Regions from separate parts of the Homo sapiens genome. Here region 1 is linked to region 2. The links are contacts of gene promoters, found by promoter capture Hi-C in human tissues and cell types (Jung and others, 2019). All regions are on one chromosome and are shown on one strand. The core of a region is centred on a gene start or on the middle of the fragment in contact, and the rest is flanking DNA. Distances in the headings are between cores, read along the strand shown. Region 1 has its middle 310 kb from the start of GRIN3A. Region 2 holds the start of PPP3R2 (protein phosphatase 3 regulatory subunit B, beta).

Evidence for each region. The method cuts DNA at HindIII sites, captures the fragments that hold promoters and counts their contacts. A contact is called where the count stands out against the background at its distance.
Region 1: a contact is called between a fragment that was not itself captured here and the fragment with the promoter of PPP3R2 in region 2, in 1 of the 25 tissues and cell types used here (mesendoderm cells).

Annotation. Positions count from the first base shown.
Region 1 is chr9:102,045,524-102,051,017 of GRCh38, forward strand. No RefSeq gene overlaps it. Among named protein-coding and RNA genes, the nearest start is that of GRIN3A, 310 kb to the left of the region's middle. The HindIII fragment of the contact is 5,660 bases long and covers 1,034-5,494 here.
Region 2 is chr9:101,592,587-101,597,520 of GRCh38, forward strand. It overlaps PPP3R2 (protein phosphatase 3 regulatory subunit B, beta), which reads right to left and starts at 2,383. Exons shown (of 1, transcript NM_147180.4): 1 at 1-2,383. The coding sequence starts at 2,335. The coding sequence ends at 1,823. The region is part of intron 6 of GRIN3A (glutamate ionotropic receptor NMDA type subunit 3A); the gene reads right to left. It overlaps LOC105376186 (a long non-coding RNA gene), which reads left to right and starts at 2,388. Exons shown (of 3, transcript XR_001746863.2): 1 at 2,388-2,502; 2 at 2,757-2,922; 3 at 3,011-3,229. The HindIII fragment of the contact is 7,456 bases long and covers 1-4,934 here.

The sequences.
Region 1 (5,494 bases), core at 2,614-5,113, 450 kb after region 2:
TGTTGACCTCTCTAGTGAGGTTGGGGAATCTTTATGGATACTATCCTCAGTTATTTTTTCCACGTTGTTAGCTCTCTTTCACTCTCTTTCAGGGACACCATTGAATCATACATTTGGCCTCTTTACATAATCCTATATTTCTTAAAGGTTTTGTTCATTCTTTTTTATTCTTTGTTCTTTATGTCAGATTGAGTTGATTCAAAGAACTGGCCTTCGAGCATTGAGATTCATTTCTCAACTTGATTTCTTCTGTTTTTAATACTTCTGTTTGTGTTACAAATTTCTGTAGTGATCTTTTCAGCTGTCTCAGACAAGTTTATTTCTTTCTTAAAATTTCTATTTTGTGTGCAGCTCTTCTATCATTTTATTAAATTCCTTAGATTCATTGGAGTGGGTTTCAACTTTGTCCTGAATATCAATGATGATCTCTATTGCTATCCAGTTTCTGAATTCTAAGTCTGTTGTTTCAGCCATTTCAGTCTAGTTAAGAACTATTGCTGGAGAGCTCGTGTGGTCATTTAGAGGTAAGGAGACACTGGTTGTTTTGAGTTGCCAGGGTTCCTGTGCTGCCTCTTTCTAATCTCTGTGGGATAATGTTGCTTTGAACTTTGAAGTTGGCTTGGTTTGGATGTTTTTTTTTTTTTAATTTTATTTTATATACCTGGATGCCTTTGAGGATTTGACTGTGGTATAAGTTGAGTTCAGATGAATGGTTTCATTCTGGATGATTTCTGGTGGCCATACCTGAGCTTAGCACTGCTGACTGCATACCCTAACCATAAGCGGCAGGTATCAGGGCATTGTATTATTCTCTGACCCCTCAAGATTAAGCACCTGCTATGCTGGAGGGGCTGAGGGCTCACAGTCCACAGGCAACCAACACTCTTATGGGGGTTGCTAACAAAAGCACTTGAGTGGGGTGGTGGAAGTGGGGCCAGCATGCACATGTACTCTAGCGTGGGAGAGGATTCATGTCTGGATGCGCATGTGTGGTGATGGAGCATCATCATCCATGCACACTAGTAGCAACAATGCAACAGTTTCCACACATGTGCATATGCTCATGTGGTAGTGGCATGTTTTTTGTCTTTTCGATAATAGCTATTCTCACTATGTTGATGTGGTATCTCATCATTATTTTAATTTACATTTATTTAATGATTCGTGATGTTGACCATTTCTTCATATACTTGGTGACCATCTTATGTCTTCTTTTGAGAAATATCTATTCAGATTATTAGCCCATTTGTTAATCAGATTTTTAGATTTTTTTTGCTGTTGTTTGGCTTCCTAGTGTATTCTCAGTATTAATTCCTTGTTCTATAAATGGTCTGCAAATATTTTCTCCCATTTTGCAGGTCATCTCTTCACTCTGCTGATTATTTCTTTTGAGGTGAAGAAACTTTTTAGCTTGATGCAATCCTGTTGGTCTGTTTTTGCTTTTGTTGCCTGTGTTTTTAGTCTTATTCATATTTTTCTTTGCCCAGACCAATGTCTTGAAGCATTTCCCTTATGTTTTCTTTAAGTAGTTTCATGAATCTTATATTTATGAAATATTAATCTTATATTTAAATGTTTTTAGTTTGGGTTTTATTTTTGCATATGGTGAAAGGTAGGGGTTTAGTTTCATTCTTCTGCATACAGATATTTAGTTTTCCCAGCACCAATGATTTATACAACTGTCCTTTCCCCGATGTAGGTTATTGGTGCCTTTGTCAAAAATCAGTTGTCTGTGAATACATAGATTTATTTCTGTGTATTCTTTATTTCTCTCTAACTTGTTCCATTGGTCTACATAAATTTTTATGCCAGTACCATGGGTGTTTTGATTACTATGGCTTTGCAGTATATTTTCAAGTCATGTTGTATGATGCCTTGAGCACACTTTGTTTCTTTTGCTCAGTATTGTTTTTGCTATTCAGGGCTTTTTGTGGCTTCATACAAGTTTCAAGATTGTTTTCTCTCTTTCCGTAAATAATGCCATTCATATCTTGATAGGTACTGCATGAAATCTGTAGATTTCTTTGGGTCGTATGGTCATGTTTTCAATATTAATTTTTCCAATCTGATATGGTTTGGCTCTGTGTCCCCAGACAAATCTTATCTCGAATTGTAATCCCTACATGTCAGGGGAGGGACAAGGTGGGAGGTGATTGGATCATGGGGGCAGGTTTTATGTGCTGTTCTCATGATAGTGAGTTAGTTCTCAAGAGAGCCGATGGTTTTAAAGTGTGGCACTTCCTCTTTCTCACACACATTCCCTCCTGCCACCTTGTGAAAAAGGTGCCTATTTTCCCTTTTGCTTCTGCCATGATTGTAAGTTTCCTGAGGCTTCCTAGCTATGCTTCCTGTTAAGCCTGCAGAATTGTGAATTAATTAACCTGCTTTCCTTTATAATTACCCAGTCTTAGGTGGTATTCTTTATAGTGGTGTGAGAATGGACTAATACACAATCCATGAACATGGATGTCTTCCCGTTTTTAAGAAAAGAAAAGGAGAGAAGACCCAAATTTACAAAAACAGAAATAATAAAGGAGACATTACAACTGATACTACAGAAATACAAAGTATCATTAGAGGCTATTTTGGTCAAGTATCTGCCAACAAATTAGAAAACTTAGAGGAAATGAATAAATTCCTCAACCCATATAACCTACCAAGATCGAATCAAGAAGAAACAGAAAAGCTGAACAGAATAATCAGAAGCAATGAGATTGAATTAGTAGTATAAAATCTCCCAAGAAGAACAGCCTTACACAGGATCACATCAAAGCTCTATTTCACAACCTTTTAAAGGAGAACTAACACATATTCTTCTCAAACTATTCAAAAAAATTGAAAAGGTAGTAATTTATACAAACCAATTCTATATTATATTCAATTCGCTTTAGAAAGAAGCCAACATCACCCTGATACTGAAATCAGACAAAGACCCACAAAAAAAGAAAACTGTAGGTCATTAGCTCTGACGCAGTTTTGCATAGCTGTATAAATCCTTAACAAAATACTAGCAAACAAAATCCAACAGCACATCAAAAAGATTGTATACCATGATCAAGTGAGATTTATCCTAGGAATAGGAAGGCAAGAATATTTCAACATACACACATCAATAAATGTGACAAATCACATTAACAGAATGAGAAACAAAAGCCCTGTAATCATCTCAGTAAACGCAGAAAAAAAACATTTGACAAAATTCAGCATGCCTTCATGATGAAAACTGAACAAATCAGATCTAGAAAGAATGTTCCTCAACACAGCAAGGGCCATATGTGATAAACCCACAGCTACCATCATATTGAATGAGAAAACATTGAAAGCTTTTCCTCTAAGGACTAGAACAAGGGAAAGATGCTCACTTTTACTATGGTTATTCAATATAGTAGTGGAAGTTCTAGCCAGAGAAATTAAGGGAAGAGAGAGAGAGAAAGGGAGGGAGGGAGGGAGGAAGGAAGGAATGGAGGGGAGAGAGAAAGAAAGAAAAAGAAGAAAGAAAGAAAAAGAAAGAAAGGAAGAAAGAAAGAAAGATAGATGGATAGTGAATCAGAATTGGAAAGGAGGAAGTCAAATTGTCCCTGTTTGCAGACAACACAATCTTATCTATTGAAAAACCTAAAGACTATACCAAAAACCTATTAGAAGTGATAAAATAGTTTGGTAAAGATGAAAGATAAAAAATCAACATCCAAAAACCAGTAGCACTTCTGTACACCAATAACAAATTAGCTCTAAATTTAAGAAAGCAATTCCATTGACAATAGCTGCAAAAAATAATAAAGGACCTAGGAATAAATTTAAGCAAGGAGGTAAAAACTCTTGACAATGAAAGCTACAAAACATTGATGAAAGAAATAGAAAAACATTTTTGAAGAAGCAGACAGTTAGCAGACATAATGCTTTTTTCTGCAATTTCAATTGAAGTCAACTGAGTGGTAATACAGTGCCAAATAAATTTAGCCCAAATCCACAGAGAATGTGCAATTAAGAGGCTTCTTCTACACTGAACTGGTTAGTCTTTTTTGGATTACATTGACAGGAAGTTGAACAAAATTGAAAGCTTTGATAGATAAATTACCAGGAAGAGAATGGGAGTGAAAACCAACTCAAGAAAATTCCTCTCTTTGTTTCATATTCCATTTTCAATCCGTTTGAAAAAACAGTTGGCTTTACCTTCAAAACACAGGCAGAATCTAATTAGTTCCTACCTGCTCCAATGTTGCCATCCTGTCTCAAGCTACTATCATTCCTTCTCTGAATTTTTGTAATAGCCTCCTGATTGGCCTCTCTACTTTCACTTTTGTCCCCGTAAAGATTATTCGTAATGCAACAGCCAGAGAAATTTAAAAAAAAAATCTAACTAGATAGTGTCATCCTCTGCATAACAACTTCAATAGCTATATGTCTTACTTCTAGTAAGAGACCAAAGTTTTAAAATGCATAGAGGTGATTTGTGGCCTCTCTTACTTTAACTCCTAGTACGCTAGACCTTTCTCACTGTGCTTCAGGCACATTGGCCTCATTGCCAACCATACACTTTCCCTAGGGCCTTTGCCTGGCTGTTGCCTCTGTAGTGTAGCTAACTTCCTTTCCCTTTTAAAGGCTTTTTCAAATCTCACCTTCCCAGTGGGGCCTGCTCTTAAAAAGCTGTCTAAAATTGCAACCTTACTTTTTCCTCCTTGTTAACTCCTAATCTTCCTACTCCTTCTCTCTCTAACAGCTATACTAAAGTATAATTGACAAAATAGTCATGTTCATTTAACATGTACAATTTGATAAGTTTTGACAAATTAATACTACTAGAAAAGTATCATAACTATCAGGAAAATGTACATATCATCGTACCAAAAGTTTCCCTTTACCCCCTTATAATCTTCACTTCTGCTGCATCCTGCCATTTAAACCCACCCACAGGAAACCACTGATGTTACTTTCTATTGCTATAAGTTCTTTTTAATTTCCTAGAATTTTAAATGAAAGGAAACATATTGTATAATTTTTTTTGGCGGGAGGTCTGGCTTCTTTTTGTCTGGCTTCTTTCACTCAGTTTAACTGTTCTGAAATTCATCATACTGGCCTATATTAACAGTTCATTTTTAATATTTACTGATGAGTTGTATTCCATTGAATGGGTAGATCACCATTGTTACATTTACTTACATTTTGACAAAAACTAAAATTGTTTACAGTTTGGGACTATTACAAATAGAGCTGCTTTGTATATTTGTGTGCTTTAATGAACGTACACTTTTATTTCTCTTGGGAAAATACTTAGAAGTGGAGTGGTGGGAGAATAAGGTAGATCTATGTTTAACTTCTTAGGAAACTCCCCGACAGTCTTTCAAAAACAATTGTACCATTTTTTATTCCAACTAGAAGCATATGCCAGTGTGAGTTTCTCCACACCCTCAAAAACATTTTCGCCATGGCCAATCATTTTAATTTTAGCATCTTCAAATATGCTTATTTGCTTGCTGTCTTTGTATTTCCTTTG
Region 2 (4,934 bases), core at 1,133-3,632:
CTGATCACCACAGGGTTGGGAGCGTTTATCACAGTTTTTAGGGTTGAACAGGAATTGAAGGGGTAAGGATTCCTATTTTTGTGGTTTCTAAGTAATCTATTAAATACAAAAGTATATGGTAGGGTACCTTGATAGATGGGTTCCCTACAAGTGATTAAATTTGTGGACTTTTTTTTTTTTTTTCTATTTTGGTCAAGACCAGTTGCCAGCTTCTTCCAAATAAAATAGCAGTAAATCTCCTTGAAACAGATCTTCCATGTCCTGAAAAAAGTTACCTGAGTGGTATCTCTTGGCTAAGCAAGTGTAGGGAGAGTATGTTTCATTGTTCTGCTGTTTTGAGAGCCTTAAGCATCTTATATGGGAAGTGGTTCTCTGTGAGAAAGAGGATTGGTATGGAGGCACAGATGCTGGGACAAGTCCTAGCCCTGCTCTTCTGAGGACAGTTCATGCTCTGAGAACTCACAATAGTATGTGGGACACCTCAGGGAGCTGGTAACATTTGGGGTACAGGCAGTGATGTATTTACTGGTAAACAAATTCTCCAAAACAAAACAAAAACAACTAAAAGCTTTTGTTCTTTTCTCACCATGGCTGATCTAAAGCTACCAACATGACATAAATGCGTGGGAAGAGACACATGCATTCTGGATCTCCCCTGGAACCACAGGCTCCGGCTCACCCAATGGTGGAGATCTGTTAGTGTGTGAGGACTTCTGCACTGAATGTTCCACTAGGGAAAAGGCTTCCTGGAATGAGAGAGCTCTCAGTTTCTCTTCTAGGCCTCAGATCTGATTTTCAAAATCAGCATAGCTGGTGTAGCTAGCATCCACCTCTGCTGTGGAGACACAATTGTCAGTCTCTGCATCTGTGAGCAACAGACATAATGCCACTTTGGCATCCTAGGGAGATTCCACTGCAGCCTGACTCTACTGCCTCTCCTCCGTAGGACAACTAACTAAATGTCTCATTGTCTCCACCTGGGGGTAGGGACCAGTGTCGGAGGTGAGAGCACTTTCTGGGAGAACACTTTGCTTGCCCTATTTAGCTGGAGGTCCCCTTCATTGAAATTAATGCTGGTGTGGGCTGCCAACCCTGGAAACCCACTGCTAATGAGGATGATGGCTGAGCTGGGCACTTAGTCCAGGCTTAGCATTTCCTATAAGAGCCCTGAAGCTAGTTTCTGTTCAGGAGCTGGAGCAACAAGTCAGGAGGAGGCCAAATGAACTCCTACCCCTCAAACATGCACAGCGATTTCTGGATGCATTGTGGGGAATGGGGCTGCAATCTGCCGAAGGAAAAGATGGGATTCTGTCCCCTAAGAAAAGTGATTACGAGATGCCCAGCAAAGACAAATATATTTGTCCCTGTTGCTACAATAGGAAGTTAACAATCTGGCAAGATATCTGAACACAAGCAAATGAAAACAGTTCACCTAACACCCATGCAAATTATAAATTTCCTCCCATATACAAAATGATGAGAAATAACAGCAAAAATGTATACTTTCTTATTTTTGAACTTTTAAAGTTCTAGTTTGGTCTTTGAATCAAAACAAAGTAAAAGATGTTTATAAAAGCCATTTCCTTTTCTTTCCCCACTATGCTCATTTGACTTGCTCTTCCCCCTATAGGGTACCCTGAGTCATTCAGAGAAGGAGAATTAATAGCACTGAGTTGGTGATGAAGCTCCTGTTAGGACATATGGCTTCACAAAAAGAAATACTTCCAGATAAGTCAGAGAGACAGTTGGACGTCTTGAGCAAATCTTGAAAGAGATAGGGAAGAAAGCAGAAGTTGTTGGGTGGTGCTTGTAAGAAAAAGGCTCATACGATGAGGACCAGCTTCTTGTGGATCTCCAGGTCTCTGACCACAGCACTGAATTCCTCAAAGGATATCTTCCCATCGCCATCCTTGTCCAGGATGATGATGGTTTTGTCGACCAGCTGCTGGAGCTGCCAGTCCGTCAGGTTGTTGCCCACCATCATCTTCAGCACCTGGAAGAGCTCCCCGTTGGAAATGTAGCCATCTTTATCCATGTCGTAAATGCTGAACGCAAACCTCAACTTCTGCTCCTCGTCGCCCTTGACGCTGAACTGGGAGGTCCCCAGGATGAATTCCTTGAAGTCCACTTCTCCATCACCGTCGGTGTCGAAGACGTCGATCACTCGCCGCACCAACGGGTTGTGGCGCAGCTCCGGCAGGGACATGAACTCCTCCACGCTCAGAGACCCTGATTTGTCCAAGTCCAACTTCTTAAACCTCCTGCCCAGCCTTTTAATTTCATCATTGTCAAAGTGGGAGCACATCTCCGCCGGGTAACTGGCCTCGTTTCCCATTGTGGACATCTGGCAACGGCCACGGCTCAAAGGGTCGGAGAGGGGAGCAGGGGCGGTGAGCTCGGGCGGGGCTCGTGCCCGGACGGTTGGGCCATGGGGTGGGGGTAGAGGGCTCCCGGGGGCCCTGGTCGAGCAAAAGGGCAGGGGAGCGGAGGGAGGGGCGGCAGGTCAGAGAGGGAGCGGAGAGAGGAGGGAAAGAAGGAGGGAAAAGGGGGCGGAAGGGGAGGTGGGTGCTGTCTGGGCAGGAGTATAGGGAGGAGAGAATGGAGCCTGGGGGTGCCCGGGAGAGGCAGAGGTGGAAAGCTGGGCTGCCCCTTCTCTTTTTCCTTCTCTCAAACTCCTTGTACCTTTCCATGATAACCCCAATTTCCCTGGCAATTATTTTATCTACTTATTTCTTTTTTTTTTTTCTCTGAGAAAGTAAACCCCAAAGGAGAAGGGATCGCACCTGTGTTATTCGCTGCAGTATCCCAGAAGCACAGTGCTTCACAGGCAATATGTGCTTAATAAATATACGCCGAATGACTGAACTGCAACCAAGGACACTGTATACTTGCTTTACAGACCTAGTGTAAGGATGAAACAAGGTGACACATCAAGGCATTGATATAGTATGTTTTCCACGATTCCCTGGGAGGGGAAGCCGGGATTGACATCCTTCTGTACCTTTTTCAGGACGTAGGATTCAGAGTGTTTGTAAGAGACCAGGCAGATACCGCGCAGAATTTCTTACATGGATCACCTACAGGCACTAACATATTCCCGAGGAATATAAACAATGCTGAATTCAGGGCGTTTTTCAAGATGACACAGGTCTCAAGAACACAACCTCTGTTACTCTGTTCCCTCTTATCCATCATCTCATGCCCGAGTCACATCTTTGTTGTTGGTGCCTGGCGGCTATTCTGCAGAATACCTTGGGGGAAGGTCTGCAATGTGCCCAAAGAAGCCTTTTGTGTGTGTTGAGAGTGACAGTCGCCTCTGGATGATCTCACTTTTCTCCTTTTGTTTCAACTAGATTTGTTCTTTCTGTTGAAGACTAATCTCACATGCTCCCTCTTATTCCTTCTTCCTTTCGGAGCGCATCAATTACTCCAAATGCATAAGAAACAAATGTGGTTCAAGAGCAAACAGTTCAAAGGGACTTGGGGGAACCTCAGGCCACTACATCAAACTGAAAGATGCAAACACTCCTTCGCTTTAAAAAATGTTGGCAAGTTCTGTGTTCTATAGTTCAGCCAAAATATCAGTCTAAAGATAACCATGCTGGAACTAGCAAAACTAAGCCACTGATCACCTTATCATTAAGTCTGGCCATTTTACTTTCCTCTATAAACAAATGATAATCCATGGATATGTTTTAAAGCTGATTATGGGCATTACACAAATGAAACCCCCTTTCCCAATTAGACTGTTATATTGGAATGTTTTTTTGTTTCATTTATTTGCTTGCTTTTCAGTTATTCAGAGAAATGAGCATGGTACAGTTTGCATATAAGCCTATTGAATTTGCAATATTAAGGATACCACCTTAAATTATATTACAAGATGCCTAAAATCAGTGTTGGTCTCTAAATGATACCAACCACTATAGCCTGTGTTCTTTCTAAAGCACAAAGACCTTTCTGGACTCTCTGGGGGAAATATCCAGGCCCTGCAGGTGCAGTTCTGAAAAAATCAGAAACCTCAGGGGCAAGGACAGAACTCTATCTTTTGGGCATGCACTGGGGCTGGGAGCCTCTAGAATTGTGTTATTTCTCTCATCTTGTGTCTTTGACCACAGTGTAGTCCAGTTTCTTGGCTGCAAGTAAAAGAATCTACCTCTAAGAAGCTTAACATGAAAGATAATTTGTTGGAAGAATCTCACATAATCTAAAGAAGAGCTGAATGATTCAGTCTTAGGAAGGGTGAGGATCCCACTGGGTTTAAGGAAATATTGGAACCAACGCCTCAGGACCAGTTATGTAATTTGCAGTGTCCTTTGTTTGAAAATGATTGAGAGCTTCAAGATGGCCACAGCAGAACATTAAACCAAGTACGGGACCTTATGAGACTGCGTGGGCCACATGCCCATGAAGCTGGCCCTGCAAGGAGTTGGGCCCATTGACCTCTCTGTGCCTTTCACCTCTGCTTCTCTTTCCTTCACTCTCTCCTATGGTAAAGCAATTCTTCCACATTGCAGAGGACACAACCACTGACAGATTCCAAGTTAAGACTTTGGGGATTTTATCATCAGAAAAGACGGACTTTTCCCTGTTCTAGTTAGATGCCCATAAATCCCATGAACAGGCTCTGATTGGTCTCACTTGGGTTGGGTTCCCACCTATGAGCCATCAGACATGGCTTATAACATATGGGAGCTTCCATTTGAACCTCATGGATGGAGCTGGTCGGGGGGAAGTGGGGGCTGGGTAGGAAGAGCAGGTACCAAAAGAAGCACATGCTCTTCCTTATAAGAACAGGGTAATGCTGAGCAGACAGAACAACAGATGGACATTAGACAGGTCCATTAGTGCTGACTCTATAGGAGAGAGGAAGCATTTTGAACTCCCTTCAGTTTTGCCAACTGAATAGGCCACAGATCCTGCTATAGTTACAG